2 separate regions of the Homo sapiens genome follow, and region 1 is linked to region 2. Evidence: promoter capture Hi-C in 16 types of primary human blood cells and fetal thymus (Javierre and others, 2016). All regions are on one chromosome and are shown on one strand. The core of a region is centred on a gene start or on the middle of the fragment in contact, and the rest is flanking DNA. Distances in the headings are between cores, read along the strand shown.

The links. Contacts are between HindIII fragments. The CHiCAGO score rates a contact against its expected background, and 5 or more counts as called.
Region 1: a fragment that was not itself captured here is called in contact with the fragment with the promoter of OR6C3 in region 2 in 2 of 17 cell types (neutrophils and total B cells); the score reaches 8.8 in neutrophils.

The regions. Positions count from the first base shown.
Region 1 is chr12:55,580,699-55,584,293 of GRCh38, reverse strand. It overlaps the pseudogene ATMINP2. Among named protein-coding and RNA genes, the nearest start is that of OR2AP1, 10 kb to the right of the region's middle. The HindIII fragment of the contact is 2,465 bases long and covers 736-3,200 here.
Region 2 is chr12:55,329,366-55,332,502 of GRCh38, reverse strand. OR6C3 (olfactory receptor family 6 subfamily C member 3) reads right to left here and starts at 1,757. Exons shown (of 2, transcript NM_001388498.1): 1 at 1,696-1,757; 2 at 1-846. The coding sequence starts at 802. The HindIII fragment of the contact is 8,486 bases long and covers 1-3,137 here.

The sequences.
Region 1 (3,595 bases), core at 719-3,218, 250 kb before region 2:
AATCACAGAACTAAAATCCGGGAAGGAATAATCAGGAATCTTTTGATTTCACATGACAGCAACCCAAGCCAAACTATCTTAAGTGAAGACAGAAATTTATAATTCACATAATGTATAAGTCCAGCAGTAACTGGTTTCAGGTGTTACTAGATCTAGAATACAGGGACTCAAACATAGTTACTCTCTCCCCATTTTCTTCTTTTAAGGTTGGTGTTTTTCTTGAGACAGATTTTTTCACTTGGAAGACAGTAGACAGTCTCCAATATATAGTCCTTGAAATCTATGATCCAGAAAGCATGGCACCATCTCTCTTTTCTTTCAAGTCTAAATCAAAAAGGTCATAAGGTCCATCTTGGTTCATATGCTTAACTCTGACTCAATCTTTTAGCTAGGGGAATGTGGTATCATAATTGAATGGGCCAGTTTGTATGTTTATCAATGACGTCAAATAAGGAGAGATGAGTGGATTGACAGTTCCATCAGAAATCCAAGACTGGAGCAGGGTGAAATATTTATCAGAGAAAGGGAGATGCTAACACAAACAAAAATGACAGCTATTGATAAAAGGAAGTTAATTGAATCAGGCAAGAACTGCAGGGGAACATTACTTTGTGAGAAATTGCCAAAGCCAAAGGCCTTGAGAGGGAGAATATGTGTGGAATAAAGAGTGAGTGATATGGGCATAAGTGGGGAGGGGTAACAGTTTGTGCTGAATCAACTTTTGATGTACAAGCTTCTGTTATATAATAATGAGACCCTTTTCATATATAGGATCAGACCAGTCAGAGGCACTAAATATGCACAGTATGAACCTGGTACTAGGCAGTCTAGAGGTGGATGACCTAGGTGGGCACAGTTTTAGCCCATCAAATTTATGATGATGCTACATTGTGAGCATGTATATATTCTGGGAGTAATTAGATCTATGCTATCAGAGACTTCACATCCAAAAGGTCCAAAAAGATGCAGGAAGCTCCTATGAAGAAGAAATAACTTTATGCAAAGCTGTGAAAGTTCTAGAATTTCCCTGCATTTTCTCATGCAAAGAATTGTTCACCCACAGTTCAAGCCAATAAATATTTAAATAATTAATAAGCCAGTTATAATCTATATAATCTCTTCCTTTTGGGTATTTATTTGCAATTATTCTTGACAGTTTTAGAAAAGAAAGCAAAACAAGGAATTGCTGGTGTAGACACTGAATTTCCATGAATTTTAACTACTGTTGATACTCTTCCTATTTTTAAGTTCTTAGAAATTTTATTGAAATTGTGATAATTTTCCAAAATTGCAGGAAGAACTAAATGTTATGACAGTCTGAATTTTTACTAGTGATATTTTTATGATTTTCTATATTTTTGGGAAAGGACAAACATAACATTGGTGTGGGAACTTAACATGAAATAAAGTATTATGGCTAGTAGGATTAGATAGCTGCCTCACTGTCCAGCTCCATCCAGACAATACTTGAATTATGGTACAGGCCTAACATGCCTAGTATCTATGGCATGTCAAACTGGAGACAGTATTTTCCAAGAATATTATGTTCTGTGGAGTTTTCTTTGTCACAAAGGAGGCTATATCATAATATTTTGGAGGAAGTATATATGATTTCATCAAATGCTACACATTTGATGAAAATGGTCACCAAGATTCTTTATTGAGATATTTAAAGTAGAGAAATGTTGTCTCCTTGTGTGTTAAATAAAGTAAAATAAATTAGAGAAACGTACAAAGAAATTTTTATACTCTTGCCTTTACTCTACTCAGGATTGAGGTTACAATGTTTTTCATATTTGTCTTTTTCTAAATTAAAGGAACATAGCATAGCAGATATAGTTGGAATATCTTTCACTAACTGACTCACAGATAATCATAGTTCAGATCAGAGAGTAGTATAGATGATCAGCCTCTGTGGCTGTATGGGAACCTTGACAGCAGTGCTGGCGGCTGGCCCCCTGGCCATCCTGGCAGCCACAAGGGAAGTCAAGGCTGCCTCAAGCCTGTGGGGGCCTCTGGGACCCCAGCTGAGGGACAGCAGCCTGCAGCCTGATGCCATCAGCCTGGGAGCTGATCCAGCAGTTGGTGATCAAGCTGTCCCAGGCAGTGTGGACCAATAACCTGCACACAGTGCTTGGCTGTGCAAGATCCTGCCCAGCAGCCCCACGCTCAGCATGTTCTTGGTCAACAGCCACTGCCTGTAGGATGGAATAGTAGACCCAACAATAATAAATGGTTTGGTGATTCCTGGAAGACCTAAAGGCAGAAATGCTGTTCAACCCAGCAATCCCATTACTGGGTATATATCCAGAGCAATATAAATCATTCTCTTATAAAGACACATGCATGCGTATGCTCATTGCAGCACTATTCACAATAGGAAAGACATGGAATTAACCTAAATGCCCTTCAATGATAGGCTGGATAAAGAAAATGTGGTACATATACACCATGGAATACTATGCAGCCATAAAAAAGAAAAAAATCATGTCTTTTGCAGGGACATGGATGGAGCTGGAGGCCATTATATTTAGCAAATTTACTCAGGAACAGAAAACCAAATACTGCATGTTCTCACAGGTGGAAGCTAAATGAGGAGAACACATGGATACATAGAAAGGAACAACATACACTGGGGCCTACTGGAGGGTGGAGAGGGAGGAGGGAGAGGATCAGAAACAATAACTAATGGGTATCAGGCTTAATACTTGGGTGATGAAATCTGTACAACAAACTCCCATGACACAAGTTTACCTAAGTTGCAGACTTGCACTTATATCTCTCAACTTAAAAGTTAAAAAAAAGAAAAAGAAATGGTTTGATAACCCGTACTGAAATTTTACTGTTGTCCAGTTGATGGATGCCCTGGACGCTCTCACAAACCATTTTCTCAATTTTCTCTCGTAAAGCAACACTTTATGAAAATGCATGCTGAGAACATAAATGTAGTAATGAGACTTGAAGAGACACTCGGACTGTGGCAAGATCTTTGAGTGCACATGTGTCTGTCCCTATGCCAGTGGAATGGTATTACAGTCAGACGTTTACTAAACTGGCCATGGTCCCTGCAGAATACAGGGATCTACCTATTAGAAAAGGAAAATGTAAAACAGTCTATAAAACTAGAGGGGGTCCAATAAGACCATTGAATCACTAAACAACCAACCAACTTCTAGACAGACACTCAAGAACCAGAAGCTTCAGAAATAAAAACAGTAGCTTTTTTTTTTAAAAGAATCTTGAAGCTCTAATGCCAGAAAGCAGACTCTTACAACACCTCTGAAGTAGCCTTAGAAGTTGCATTTACCACAGCCCAAAGTGGTTCTTGTTAAATTACGTGTGATGCAGTTTTCTCCTATGCTTGTCATTGAGCCTGCAACTGACTCCCTGGCTGAACCCGTGGTGTGAGGTATCGATCAGGCTTCTGCCACAGAGTCTGTGCACCTACCGCCTTGTCAATAGGAACCCTGATCCATGCCCTAGATTCAGAGGCTTGCTCTCCTAAGAAGAGACTGCCTCTTTCAAAAAATTGTAAATCCTGTTGCTGTTGAGCCAACTAATATGGCTGTTCAAGTGAACCTGGGTAAAAGTCTGT
Region 2 (3,137 bases), core at 508-3,007:
TCAATGATGCCTTTTCTTTTGCAGATGGATTAGCATACATGAATATACAGCTTCCATAAGAAATGGAAATGACAATCATGTGAGAAGAACAAGTGGAGAAAGCCTTTTTTCTTTGACTGGCAGACGGGATTCTCAAAATGGTCCTGATAATGTACATGTAAGATAAAATCACTAATGCCAAAGTGAACAGCAAAGTAACCAAAGCAAAGTAAAAACCAATTACTTCTAGGAGCCATGTATCTGAACAAGATAGTTGTAAGAGGGGAAAATAGTCACATGCAAAGTGATCAATGACGTTGGAAGCACAGTAATCCAGCTGGAGGAGAAGCATAAGGGGTGGGAAAATGGTCAGAAACCCACTTAGCCAGGCACACAGCACAAGTAGAGTGCAGAGTTTCCTGTTCATGATGGATGTGTAATGAAGGGGCTTGCAGATGGCAACATAGCGGTCATAGGACATGGCAGTTAAAATGTAAAATTCAGTCACCCCCATGAAGATAAAGAAAAAGAGTTGGGCTGCACAGTTGTTATAGGAAATAGTCTTATTCCTGGTGATAATTGCCCCCAGAAATCTGGGGATGCATACGGTTGTAAATGAGATTTCTAAGAAAGAGAAGTTCCGGAGGAAGAAATACATAGGTGTCTGCAGATGGGAGTCCACAAAGGTTAGGGTGATGATAGTCAGGTTTCCAGTAACACTTAATATATACGTGATAAATAAAAAGAGAAAAATCACAATCTGAAGGTCAGGATCATCAGAAAGGCCCAGGAGGACAAACTCTGTGACCATTGTGTGGTTCATGTCTCGTCCTTTCTCTCTCTCCTTCTTCCACTCTCCTTTTTGTTCTTTTAAAGATATTTTGGTAGAATGATAATTAAGGAAAATAGATAAAAGATATAATTCATCATGATCCATATAATTATCAATACAATTCTAAAAATCTTCTACAGTCTGACAGTTTTGACTATCTTGTTTGCATTATGTTTTAATATTTTTTTCTAAGTCCAGCCTATTTACTAGTTCTCTTACTTTAAATCTAACAGAAATTAGGATATCTTCAGACAATAAGCCACATCACTGAGAAACAGCTAATAAAATGTATAATACCTGCTTTGTGTCCCATTAATGCAAAATATCATTATCTTTTTTGTTGAAACAATCACATGAAACATACATTTTTCTTTTTTTCATCATGTATACATTAAAGGATATTACCACCTAAACATAAAATGGGTGCTCTTAACTTCATCAAAAGATAAAAGTGAAAATTAGAAGATTGTTAATAACCCATTATTCTTTTTATGATATGAGAAACCAATTAAAGATTTTTAGCAAATAAAACATATATTTATATTAAAATAATGTTATTTTATTTATTCATTTTATTTTTAATATTAATATTTTGGTCTAATTGTCAAGATAATAGAACATCTTATATATGATGTATATTTACTATAAGATAGAGTAAATAATGTAATTATTTTACTCAACAAATAGGGAACATGTTCGCTTACTTATTGGTTTGTCTTATAATTCCATCAAAATCTTTAATGTTTGATGTCTTCTATGACTCACAAGAAATGTGTATATATATTCTACATACAGACATTTTAATTTTGAGCTTAAGGGAACATGTGATATTTATCTATTTTTCATTTTGCTCTGAAGCATAAATTGGAAAAGTAACTACTTGCCTTAGATCTCAGCAACTCTCTCACTTGGATTATAGCTTAGTGCATCTTCCATTTGAACATCTTCCTTTCAGAGCTTTACGGAAAAAGTTTTATTTCCTAGTAAATTTTGTCCCACATAAGACCATTCTTCCTTATGCAACCATTCATTCATAAGGATATCCAGAATTGTATAGGAAACCCTCTCACATTCATTCTAACCTAGTCAGTTAATTTTCAGCTATTCAAGAACTGCTGGATGTTCTATTCTATAGATGTTGTCTGCTAAAATCCTGATAGTTGTCTCCTCCATATTTTAGATTGTCAAATTTCTGCTATGATGGATAGAATGTAAAATTATTGCTTCTCTTCTGGACACTACCAAAGTTCACACTAATCAAATTTTATTTTATGTTTTTCTCTATTTTATAATGGTTTAAGGGATATATTTCAGGAAATAAAAATGGAATGCCAGAAACCTTTGGAAGATGTGGAAATACATTATATTCCTCTTCAATAATGTTGAACTAGAAGTTCAAAAAAAATTTATTCCTCTTCAATAATGTTGAGCTAGAAGTTAAAAAAAAATTTAAAGAGAAAATAGGTAAATATATGACACATTGGATATTATGAGTTAGATTCTGGTATCTGGGTTCCCCCTGGTCATACTTATATCTACAATATTTCAAGTTTCTTTGTTTTGACCTCAAAAGATTTGATCTCCTGGGAACAAAGCAAAGTCCAGGCCACATCTCTGCTGTATTATAGACCATGAAAGATTTCTGGAAGTCGCCTTTGGATTTCTCAGTAGCCTCCTAACTCTTATCTGTAGTCGATCTCCCTTGAGAGCAGTTAGGTTCATCTTTTAGCCCACAGAGGACCTCAAATATTGTCTTCTGTGGAATATTTACTTCCATTAACTGCAATTAATATATTATGCATACTTAATATTTCATAAGTAATAAAAATAGCTATGACATCTATTTTCTTACAAAACTAAAGCTCAATCTAATTGATATTTAAGCATCTTTTTGAGATTAAAAAAGTTTTCTACATATCCCATTTTTGTTTTTTATACTTAGGCTTTGTTAAGTGTTAGGGCATCAAGAAGCAAAAGGTTATTTCATAATGCTAAGTAAAGAATAACTATCATAATGCAAGTATTGTGCTCACAAGTTTTTTAAAAATGCTATCAGGTTAACTAATTCAATTATCATTATAAATTGCAATATTTAATTGCAGTGTCAATTTGTCCATCTTATTGTTTATCTTGGCCTTTACATCTGTTATCCCTTCAACATTCTAATAAAAAGACCCACAAAATATGATTTTATTTATGTGAAATTCTGGTTTGTGAATTATAACTAATTATTCTCTTTAGTGTTCTTTTTATGTTTCCCAAATATTTTGGCAAAAAAAAGTGTAATCAGATAAGCCATTTATTTAACATATAATTTATTTAAACT